3 separate regions of the Homo sapiens genome follow, and all the other regions are linked to region 3. The links are contacts of gene promoters, found by promoter capture Hi-C in blood cells and fetal thymus (Javierre and others, 2016). All regions are on one chromosome and are shown on one strand. Each heading gives the region's core, a stretch centred on a gene start or on the middle of the fragment in contact. The rest is flanking DNA. Distances are from core to core; before and after follow the strand shown. Region 1 has its middle 12 kb from the start of TBC1D9B. Region 2 holds the start of RASGEF1C (RasGEF domain family member 1C). Region 3 holds the start of RNF130 (ring finger protein 130).

Region 1 (3,647 bases), core at 832-3,331, 150 kb before region 3:
GGTTTGGGAAAACAAGGAGGTGGTATAGACAACACGGCAATGATCCGAACTGAGCTCTCCTACCTTTCAGGTGGGTCAAACACATACAAATGCAGACGCGTGTCTGGAACCTCCAGCAAATGGGCTCCAGCTTCCTGCAGACTCACCCTCTCTCTGAGAGCCCAATGGGGAAACCTGCTTTTCTGAACGATGCTATATTGAAGCTGCTCATTGAAAATATTTTTATAGTACGAAGACTATCATAAAGAAAAACAAAACAAAAAAACCCCCAAAGCCCTTGGTAAAAGGTAAAACACAAAAGCTGCTAAGACCTTTAAAATCTGCACCATTCTAGCCTCAAATGAGCGAAAACGAAATGCCGCTGCCCGCTCTCTGACAATGCTCCTGAAGCCTGTCCCCATCCGGGGCTCTGCAGGTTTCCTTCAGGCACACCTGTGTCTGAGGCGTTATTGACGCGTTAGGAGAAAAGACACTTTAGGAGAAGCTGCACGTGGAAAAATGGCAAGTGTTCACTTCAAACGTATATTCCACAGTCAGTGAGAACAGGGCAGGGGATTCACGCATCTGCTTCGTTTGCTGTCGGATCTGACCCTGGGCATGTGGAGACTGGGGTTCCTGTTCTCACAGCAAGGGTCTGTGCGCCTCACGCCCCCACAAAGCTCATGCCAATGAGAGGCAGACTCAACTCAGGTGTGTCCTTTTGCAAAGAGGGTGTGCAGATTAGTTTTATAAATTTGCCCATAGTGGTTCTGTACTGGGATTAGCAGTAAGATGCAATTTTCTCATCATGTTAATTCGATGTCATCCCAGGTGTGTGGGAAGATCCCACATGTCCCTGATGCCTGGGATGCTGGCCACTGCACCCTGTCCTGTAAGCCTGTCGGCCGGTGCTCATGTGCCTTCTTCATGCTGTGCTGGGGCTGCTGGAGGGGACTGGGCTGCACAGTGGACAGTGAAGATGGGTGCTTATCTGGTATCTGCAGCGAGAAGGGGGTTTGGTCTTCCCAATGAGACATTCCAGATCATTCTGTCTTTCACAACTGCTGGCCATCCCCCTGAAATCACTGTGCCCAGAGACACTGCTGGGCTGGGCTCCCAGGTGCCACCTCCCTATACACACACTCCCTATACTGACGGGTGGCCGAGTAGACGTGTTCACAGGCTGCAGGGACGGAGGGGCCTTCAGTGTTTTCGTGCTGACTTAAACACTTGTCACTTTACGTCATGCTCAACACGGAGGCTGGAAAACAGCGACGCAGACGGCTGCCTGGCCCCGCACACAGACCCGGCCCCACGGCCTGGGTCTCCCACGGCCCTGCCCTGGCAGGAAGTGGGTGGTCAGAGTCTCAGAGGAGATACAAAGGCAAGGCCTTCTCTCAACCCCCTTTAGAAGGGGCCCTTCAGCAGGAAGTAGAATAAGCGAGAGGGGAACATCCAGAGCCAGGTCAGGGAGCAGCACCTGTACTCCACGCGGGTAGGAAGCTTCTCCCACAGGGCAGTATGCATCGTAAGCAGGGACCACAAAAGGATGTTAAAAACCCCAGCTTCCCTGGTGCAGAACAGCATGTGATTGTTCAGAGATGCGTCTGCAATGCAACATTAATCCTGGGCCCGGCCTCTTCTCTGGAAACAGCCAGCCTTGCTGGGCGCCCACCTTCAATGATCAGCTTGGGCGGGTTTTCAATACCACAAGGCTCACCTGGGCAATGCTACTGTCCTCAAAGCCTCACCTTGGGGGAACTTTGCAAATTAACCCTGAACCCCAACCTGTGCTTGGAAAGTGCTGCCATTCTTCCAAAACGGATGCTGACAGGAGAATACAAAATAAGAAAGGTGATCAGAAATCAAATCACAAAAGCAGTGACCCCAACAGCCAGGCCATGTTTAAAATTCAGGTTTTGTTCTCATCATACATGTCCAAAGAAGGTTCGATGGTGGAGAATTCACTTTCATACACCAGACTCCGAGGGGACAAGGAGTTTCGATGAAAGAAGTGACCACCTGGAAAAGGAAGAAGAGAAAGAGACTTAATAGGTCACCAGGCTTGTGTTTCTCACATGGCTAGGAGGAAACAATGCAGATTATCTTTGAAGCATGACATTTTCTTAACTATCCTTCATAAGGGGCTCTTATTAGAGAGATACAAAAAGTGCGGGCATCCTTCAATTCACGCAGGCTTTAAGCATCTAAGTTCCAATCTTCGGATCCCCAAGAGACTAACCACTGGAGCTCCTCAAAGCAAAAGCTGCCTGGTGCTCGTAAAAGGGTTCCACTTAGAAACGTGAAGACTTCTTCCTGGGCACATGATCTTATGGAGGACTGCCCCCCAGCCCTCTCATCTGGGCATATATATTTATATATATATATATATTTTTTTTTTTGAGATGGAGTTTTGCTTTTGTTGCCCAGACTGGAGTGCAGTAGTGTGATCTTGGCTCACTGCAACCTAATATGCCTATGTTGATCCTTCCGAATTTTTTTCAGTCTTAGACTTTATCTACTGAATTCCCACTGTGGAAGATGAGGATTTTCTCCTAACCCCCGCACCCAAATTGCACATACTTTCCATTGCCCCAATATAATTATATTTTGATTTTAAAATTCCATAGTTACATTATTTGACTATCTGTGCTACTCAAAGCTGAGCTGTGCTTACATTTCCTTTTCTATAAAACTGTTTTTAAGCTTTACTGGGGTATAACTGACATACAATGAAAAGCACATGTTTAAAGTACATCATTTGGTGAGTTCTGACAGCTGTATAGGCCAGTGACACCGACACCACCATCAAGATAACGAACATATCCATTACCCCAAAGTTTCCTGGTGCCTCTCAATCCCTTGCCCTTCTTTCTACCCTACTCCTATTGCCAGGGAAACATAGATTAGTTTGCATCTTTCTAGAATTTTATATAAGTAGAATTGCATAGTATATATTGGCTCTTACAAATAAAGTTGCTAGAACATCTGTGCACATAAATTGTGTGAACATATGCTTTCACATCTCCTAGACCTGTAAATACTCAGAACTGAAATTACTGCAAAAACTGAACTTTTTCAGAAACTGCCAGGCTGTTCTAAGATGGTCCTGGCTGGGTGTGGTGGCTCATGCCTGTAATCCCAGCACTTTGGGAGGCCAAGGCGGGTGGATCATTTGAGATCAGGAGTTCAAGACCAGCTTCAACTACGTAGTGAAACCTTGTCTCTACTAAGATACAAAAATTAGCTGAGCATGGTGGCATGTGCTTGTAGTCCCAGCTACTTGGGAGGCTGAGGCAGGAGAATCGCTTGAACCCAGGAGGTGGAGGTTGCAGTGAGCCAAGATCGCGCCACACGCCTGTCATCCCAGCACTTTGGGAAGGCGAGGTGGGTGGATCACGAGATCAGGAATTCAAGACCAGCTTGGCCAACATAGTGAAACCCCGTCTCTACTAAAAATACAAAAAATTAGCCAGGCATGGTGGCAGGTGCCTGTAATCCAGCTACTCGGGAGGCTGAGGCAGGAGAATCACTTGAACCCAGGAGGCGGAGGTTGCAGTGAGCGGAGATTGCACCACCGCACTCCAGACTGTGTGACAGAGTGAGACTCCGTCTGAAAAAAGAAAAAAAAGGAAAAAGAAAAAAAAAGATGGCCCTACCGGCAGCCT
Region 2 (3,551 bases), core at 298-2,797, 140 kb after region 3:
CACCCGCCGCCACGGGCAGCCTTTCGACGCCCAACCTGCAAACCGCCTGGGGGCTGCCCAGGACGTCCAGACCCTGTAGCGTCTCAGCTCCAGCTCCGCCCCCTCCTGCCCTCAGGGATCTCACCCGCGCTGTTCCCCCGGGCTACCCGTCCATCACAGGCTGGGCTCCCCGCTCAGGACAGCCTCCCTGACCAGACGAAGGCTCCGCCGCGCCCTGGTCTCCCTCTGCCCCAGTCACCCTACTGCATGTTCTTCCCAGCACGCATAAGATCTTGGCCATGTCCTTGCTTTTGCCTTTGATTTCTTGTTTGGTGTCCCCTCCCACACCAGCTAGTGAGCACTTACGGGGGCAGGCAGCAGGCGGCACACAGTAGGCGCTCAATGAATGTGGCCAGTGAGTGGACAACCCTAGCCCCCCTCCACCGGTCGCCTGCACAGTGGCTGCACTATGGCTGTTGGAGCCAGTCTTACCAGAGGTGGGACCCCAGCGTTGCCACTCCATGGTCCCGCCCCTCTCTAAACCTCAGTTACTCCACCTGCCTGGCAGGCAGAGCTTCCCAGGACTCTTCTCAGGCTCCCGGGGCTCAGAACTTCTGTCTCTCCCACAGCCCCAGGAGGCAGGAGATACGGGCCCGGAAGAGCTCCACCAGCACCCCAACTTCCCAGCTCTGTCTTTCCCACAGTTTCCCACGCCCACGCTGAGCATGGGGCGGCGTCGCCAGCACCCTTCCCCAAGTCCCCCCAAGCATCGCTTTCCCAATCTAAATACAATGAGTGGACCAGGTGGTCCCTTGATGCCGTCCGCTGTCACTGCGTGAGGGACACACCCAGGACTCCCAGCAGACCCCACTGTTCTCGCAGGCCCTCTGATAGTGGCGCTGGTCCTTTCCTCAAATCCGATCCCATCCTCAAGGGTGACAGCACCCTCTTCCCCCAGGCGCAAGGCCCTTTCCCTTCTGCACGTGCACCGGCAGGTCTGCTTTCCCGTCCCCATTTCATAGACGGGGAAACTGAGGTCCGGTGCGGGTGGAGGCTTTGGTCTAGGCTGGCTCTTCCTGCCACTCTAGCGGCTGAAAGAAGCTTGCTCCTCGCGCCCAGCAGGGGCTGGCGGCGCGCGGCAGAGCTGGGTCTCCCGCCAGGTGGCCGGGGGTGTGCCCTCAGGGTACCCTACCCGCTACCCCCGCGCCTCCAGTCCCGGCGGCCGCGCGGACCCCGCCCCTGCTGACCCCGGCGCACGCTCCCGCGCCGCGCGCAGCCTCCCGCCTCCCGCCGACCCCGCCGCGCCGCCGGCAGCCCTCCCCAGCCCCCGCGAGCCCGCGCCCTTGCCCGCACCGCCAGGTGTCCCTCGGCCGCGCACCACTCACCGGCTCCCGGCGCGCCGGAACTCCGGGCCCGGCCCATGGGCAGCTCCCGGTGCGAGCCTCGGCGCCGCGGACCGGGGCGCCGCCCGCCGCCGCCGCCGCCGCCGCCGCCGCCGCCGCCGCCGCCCGACCGCCCGGCTCCCAGCGCAGCCCGCACGAGCGCCTGGCGGCGGCCCCGGAGCAACGCGGCGCTGCGCCCCCTCGTGGCACTCAGGCAGCGCGGAGCGGGCGGGGCGCGGGGGTGGAGCTGCGGGAGCCCGCGGGCGGCGCTGCACACCAGGGCCCTCCGTGCCCCGGCCGCGGAGCCAAGCGTCCCGCCCTGCGTTCAGGCCTCCGCGGCGGCTGGCCCCCCGCGCCAGGACCACCCGCTCGGGCCGTCAGACGCTGCCCTCCCGCGCGCGGACCCTGGCGGACTCTGCGCCCCAGCTGCCCCAGCCTACACCTCACCTGGTGGGCCTCTGGCGCCCCAAAACCCAGTTCACCCTCTCTCCTCAAGACTGGGCCCGGCCCGGTTCTCTGGACTGGCCACCTAGGTTGTCTGTGTCCCCCAATGGGACATCCCTGGGTGGACACCCCCCCTCCCCAACCTTCTCGGCGCTCTCCCGTGGCCCCCAGGGAGGGTGGACACCACTTTGAAGACACCGGGGTTCTGGGAGGATGGCGATGCATGATTTCACTTTTAGAAAGGGAGAGGGGCTCTAACAGGATCCAGTGGCCTCCTTGAACTGGGTCTTCAGTGAAAAGTTCCCTGGTTGGTCCCAGCATAGAGGTCAGGACACCTGTCCTCCTGTGTCCGCAGTTTGTCCCTTCCGCTGGGTTCCTGGTCTGGCTGACTTCAAGAATGAGCCAGGGACCTTGGCAGTGAGTGTTACAGCTCTTAAAGGTGGTGCGACGGTGAAACCCTGTCTGTACTAAAAATACAAAAAAATTAGCCAGGTTTGGTGGTGGGCGCTTGTGGTCCCAGCTATTCGGGAGGCTGAGGCAGGAGAAGGGCGTGAACCCGGGGAGGTGGAGCTTGCAGTGAGCAGAGATTGCACCACTGCACTGTAGCCTGGGCGACAGAGCAAGACTCCATCTCAAAAAAAAAAAAAAAGAAAAGAAAAGAAAAAGGTGGTGCAGACCCAAAGAGTGCGTAGCAGCAAAATGTCTTGTGAAGAGCAAGAGAACAAAGCTTCCACAGCAGGGAAAAAGACCACAGCCGGTCGCCGCTGTTGCTGGCTGGCGAGGGGTGGGCGGGCAGCTTTTATTCCCTTATTTGTCCCCACCCATGTCCTGCTGATTGGTCCGTTTCACGGAGTGCTGATTGGTGCGTTTTTACAGAGTGCTGATTGGTGCATTTACAATCCTCTAGCTAGCCAGAAAAGTTCTCCAAGTCCCCACCCGACACGGAAGTTCCAGCTGCCTTCACCTCACTCTGCTTTAGTCAGGACCTGCCTGATGAGATGTGGCCCAAAACTCAACCCAACCAGCTTGAGCAAAAAGCTGGTTTGTGGATCATAAAAAGCCAAGGTTTACTGCTTAGAGGAATGGCTAGATCCAGGTACTTAACCTATGTGCATAGAAACTGGCCTCCCCTATCTCCCAGTCTTTCTGTGGCAGAATGGCCCTGGGTTGACACCTCAGAGAGGGCACAGCTGCCTGATAGTTGCAAGGACAGCCTGCGGCTGCCACACACAGGCTCCGAGGAGCTGAGCTCAGGCCATTTCCAAAGACCTAGGGAGCAGGAATAGCAGGCCTGGGTGTCGTCTCACTAGAGCTGAGGCAGAGTTAGTCCTGTGTCAGCTTTGAGGATGGAGTAAGGTGCTGTTCCAAGCTTCCGTGAAGGCTGTTCCTGGAAGAATGGACAGGTTAAGAACAACAGTCCAGCCCATTTCTTGAACAGTTAGGGAAACTGAGTCCTGGAGAGAGCAGGCAGCTGCCTAGGGCATACAGATGTATTAGAATGAATGTGGGCCAGGTAGCTAGGCAGGGAGACAGCAGGGCTGGGGCCAGGGCCAGGGCCAGAGGCTGGCCCTAGGGAGGGTGACATCTGAGACCAAGGGTCAGGTGTGGGGAAAGGGAGGAGGAACAGAGGCAGGCACTTGGTCAGGGGTGAGCAGTGTGCTCCCAGCAGATAGACAGATGCGCCTCAGGGTGCAGGCACTGGGCCCTCCCTGCATCTTCTCCGATTATCACCCTATGCCCCTAAGC
Region 3 (3,980 bases), core at 705-3,204:
AGGACTAATCTTCATCCATACCTCAATACACATGAGTTAGTTTCCAATACCCTTCTACAGAAACACCTAAAACAAGCTTTCTCAAAGACGGGGCTTTTGTTTGGGGTGACAGGCAAGCAACAAGTAGCTGAAGCACACGAACACCGTGGAGGAAGGATCTGAAGTTCAGACCATGGATTTGGGGTGCCTGATGGAACCAAGCCTCAAAGACAAACCACAGATTTCACAACACTGCAGAGGACCAGCTCTTGCTCCACAACAGCTTGCCTCCCCTTCCTCTTTCTACCCTTCCACGTGACCCTCACGGTTCTCTCCACCAGAAAAGAGGCTACCATTGTTAGTTGCCAGTCTGGCAACACTGTGCATCTCAACCACAGTGACTGGCACAGAGCAGGAACGCAAATATTTACTGAATGAACCCAAGACAAAAGTTGTTTCTACGGCCAAGCTGGGACCCTAACTGCCATTTTTAACACAGTAGAGATGAGATATGCACCTTAAGCACCTGATTACTGGTGTAAAACGGACTTTTCAAAGCCTAGTCTGAGTTGCGGACAGGCTACAGTAAAAGCCTTATGTGATTATTTTTCCCCAGCCAGACTGTCTCAAAGAAGAAAACAGCTTAGCACTTTGGCATACAAATACAGACCTCAGAGGGGCATAATATGTTAGTATCTTAAGAGTGTACAAGCAAATCATGACTTTATTTAGGTTGCCTACTTTAGGTCATCCTAACATGAACAGCAGTTTAGAAAAGAAAAATCCCCTCTCAGCATTCTCAGGGTGACAATGAGGGTGGGGATAATGGCAGATATCTCCCAAAAGTTCAGCGTGGGCCAAAACCCAAAAAATCATATTCCACGATGTGCAAAAGGTTTCTTTCAAACCATGACTAATAATTTAAACAAATACATGTTTACACCAAATAATCAACTAAACAAAGTCCTTGTTCATAGGAAAACATGACATTAAGCCGAATGGTTTCAAAGACAATTCTTGAAAATTTTACCTATTTCCCTTTTGGTCGGCACCCGTGACCTGAAAAGCCTTGGCTAGTAGTTCCGATTAGTGTCAGATCCTCATAATGTGACATTTTCAGGCGTCAAATTACAGTAAAACTACTAGGGCAAGAACAAGAGCCAAAAGCAACAGGGAAGATGTCCATTTTCCATTTACACCCCCCCCCCAATTTACCACTTAAGAAAAACGGCACGTTTTTATATTAGAAAAGGGCCGCATCCTTCCAGATCTAGCGCAGCCTTAAGTCCGTGATTTGAGGAACCTGCCGCTTCCAAAATACAGGCTGAGACGTCCTCCCCATGAAGTAGTTTTGCGCTCTTGCACCACCTCCTTTGTCTACGCTGTCCCTGCAAACTCCTAGCTCAATGCCCTCCAGCAAACGAGCTGCCTGAACGCAAAGATGACCGTTCCAAGTCTTTTTTAAAAGAAGGGAAAAACCCAGTCACGCTCCTGGAGCCTGGTTCCCACGGGAGCAGGCCGGGCTGTCCACGACGGAAGCCTCGACCCTGGCTGGGGCTGTCGGCCGGGCAGCGCGGGAGAGCCAGGGCCAGAGCCGGGGCCGGGAACCCTAGTCCCGCCGCCTACGCGGGATGCAGCGACCACCGCCCGCCGCCCCCGGGCCGGCACTCACCTCCGTGGAGGGGCAGCGGCGCCAGCACCTGGCCGCGGACCTCGGCCTTGGGGGAGTCAAGCCCGTAGCGCCCGCGGTCGATGCGAAACGTGAGCGGGGCGCCGCGGCCGGGCTCCTGCACCGTCACGTTGATGAGCGCCGTGTAGTACTCCTGGCTCGCGTTGTCTGCCCGTGCCGGCCACAGGCTGCAGGTCAGCAGGGCGAGCGCGGCGAGCCGGGCAGGGCCCGCCCGCCCCGCGCAGCTCATCGTCCCTCCGGCAGCCGCCGCTGCTCGCGGACCGGGCTCCGGGGCCGGCGCCTAGAGGCGGGGCGGGCGCGGCCCGGGCGGCGGCGGGAGCGCGCGCGCGCGGCCTGCGCGGGGCCGAGCCCGAGCGCGGCCCTCCTGGACGCCGCGGCCCCGCCGCTCGCCGCCCTCACGTCCACTGCCCGCCTGTGGGGACGCGCCCATGGGCCCTCGGCGAGGGCGGCGTCTCAGGTCGCACGCGGGCGTCTCTTCGGGGTCCCAGGAGGGTTGTAGAAGCGTGCCCCCTCCATCCCCCCGGGTCGGTCCCACCGAATGGGAGGCGCCTCGCAAGGACGCGGCGGGGGAGGGGAAGGGCGGCACGGGAGGAAGCGCCCCGAGGAGGGTCAGCGGAACACAAAGTCCCTCTCGCGCGGCTGCCGCCTGAGGCGCGTGTCCGCCGCCGCCCCGCCCCCCCGCTGGTCTAGCGGCAACGCGCAGGCCTAAGGCGCAGTCCCGCCCCGAGCGCATGCGTGCCAGGGCCTGTCCGCTCCCGCCCGCCTGCACGAGGGCCCGGGCAGCCGGGTCAGCCGCTGGTGCTGGTTGTTTCTCTGTCAGGCGTGATAGCCGCAGGGCGTGGAGCCCGGGAGATTTGCGAGGACGTATGGAAATGTGTGAGAACAGACTACAAAGGAAAAAAAGCCATAACTTTAAAAGAAATGTTTAAAATTAAATGTCATGAGATTTAACATTCACGTCATGCGGTTGACATCATGGATGGGGGATGTCTCTGGCCCGGACCTGCAGGGACACGAGTGGTTGGGAAAGACCTCTAGGGTAGCCGTCCCTAACCATTTTGGCACTGGGGGACGGGTTTCCAGGAAGAGAGTTTTTCCAGGGACTGAGGGAGTTGAAGTGGTTTCCGGATGAGGCTGCTCCACCTCAGATCATCAGGCGTTAGATTCTCGTAAGAAGTGGGCAACCTAGGTCCCAAGCATGCGCAGTTCACAGCCGGGTTCACGTTGCTATGAGAGTCTAATGCCGCCCTGATCTGACAGGAGGCGGAGCTCAGGCGGTGATGCTCACTCACCTCCTGCTCGCTTACTGGTTCCTCGAAGGCCCTGGGCCGGTACAGGTCCGCGGCCGGGCGGTTGGGGAGCCCCTGCTCTAGTGACTAGGTGAACTACTCCAGGGGCCCCCGGACCAGAGGGTTGCAGTGGGAACCCCCCCTCCACCTTCCGAAACGCGCGCGCGCGCACACACACACGACTCTCATTTTCTCTCTCCATGGCGTTTAAAAGATACACATCGCTATAAAGTATCAGCTAAAAGGAAGAATGGGGCAGTGCAGCCGAATTCAGGAACTTACAGGATCTTTGTGGGGAGGCGGAGGGGGAAAGTTTGGCGTCTTCTGACCAGCCAGGGTTGAGTCTCCTGTCTCCTACTGCGGGAAGTGGGTGGAGTCAGCTTTGCACAACCAAATGTTCTGAAAATCCGGAAAAGAGGTGGCTCCCCAAAAAGAAATTTGAGGCACTGTTTCCAGGAAAGGGTACGGATGCAGTGCAGGCTAAAACTTAAGATGCCCACCACTGGCCAGGCGCGGTGGCTCACGCCCGTAATCGCAGCACTTTGGGAGGCCTAGGTGGGCGGATCACGAGGTCAGGAGTTCGAGACCAGCTTGGCCAACATGGTGAAACCCCGTCTCTACTAAAAATAAAAAAATTAGTCGTGGTGATGCGTGCCTGTAGTCCCAGCTACTCGGGAGGCTGAGGCAGGAGAATCGTTGGAACCCGGGAAGCGGAGGTTGCAGTGAGCAGAGATCGAGCCACTGCACTCCAGCCTGGGCGACAGAGCAAGACTCCGTCTCAGAAAAAGAAAAAAGAAAGAAAACAGATGTCCACTATTGATGACTTGGCAGACATCCTTTACAATTTCTCCCTCCATTTCCCTCTCTTCCATCCTCTACCATAGTCCTTATAAACCGTGCCCTGGCCTATGGAGAACGGCTTTTACTTATTTACTTATCCTCGGCAAGTACAGACCCTAGGCCAAAGCAGCGGGGTCCTCGCCCTGGGCCTGGCACCTAAAGAGTGCTCTAATCTGGTCCCC

Evidence for each region. The method cuts DNA at HindIII sites, captures the fragments that hold promoters and counts their contacts. A CHiCAGO score of 5 or more calls a contact.
Region 1: a fragment that was not itself captured here is called in contact with the fragment with the promoter of RNF130 in region 3 in 3 of 17 cell types (M1 macrophages, M2 macrophages and M0 macrophages); the score reaches 7.9 in M1 macrophages.
Region 2: the fragment with the promoter of RASGEF1C here is called in contact with the fragment with the promoter of RNF130 in region 3 in 8 of 17 cell types (M0 macrophages, monocytes, M1 macrophages and 5 more); the score reaches 11.7 in M0 macrophages.

The regions. Positions count from the first base shown.
Region 1 is chr5:179,918,426-179,922,072 of GRCh38, forward strand. It overlaps a transcript of RNF130 not described here. Among named protein-coding and RNA genes, the nearest start is that of TBC1D9B, 12 kb to the left of the region's middle. The HindIII fragment of the contact is 1,203 bases long and covers 1,481-2,683 here.
Region 2 is chr5:180,207,664-180,211,214 of GRCh38, forward strand. It overlaps RASGEF1C (RasGEF domain family member 1C), which reads right to left and starts at 1,548. Exons shown (of 14, transcript NM_175062.4): 1 at 1,365-1,548. RefSeq lists an enhancer at 1-339 and a silencer at 1,464-1,683. The HindIII fragment of the contact is 1,452 bases long and covers 1,079-2,530 here.
Region 3 is chr5:180,069,805-180,073,784 of GRCh38, forward strand. RNF130 (ring finger protein 130) reads right to left here and starts at 1,955. Exons shown (of 9, transcript NM_018434.6): 1 at 1,652-1,955. The coding sequence starts at 1,898. RefSeq lists an enhancer at 1,629-2,336 and a silencer at 2,226-2,305. The HindIII fragment of the contact is 6,319 bases long and covers 75-3,980 here.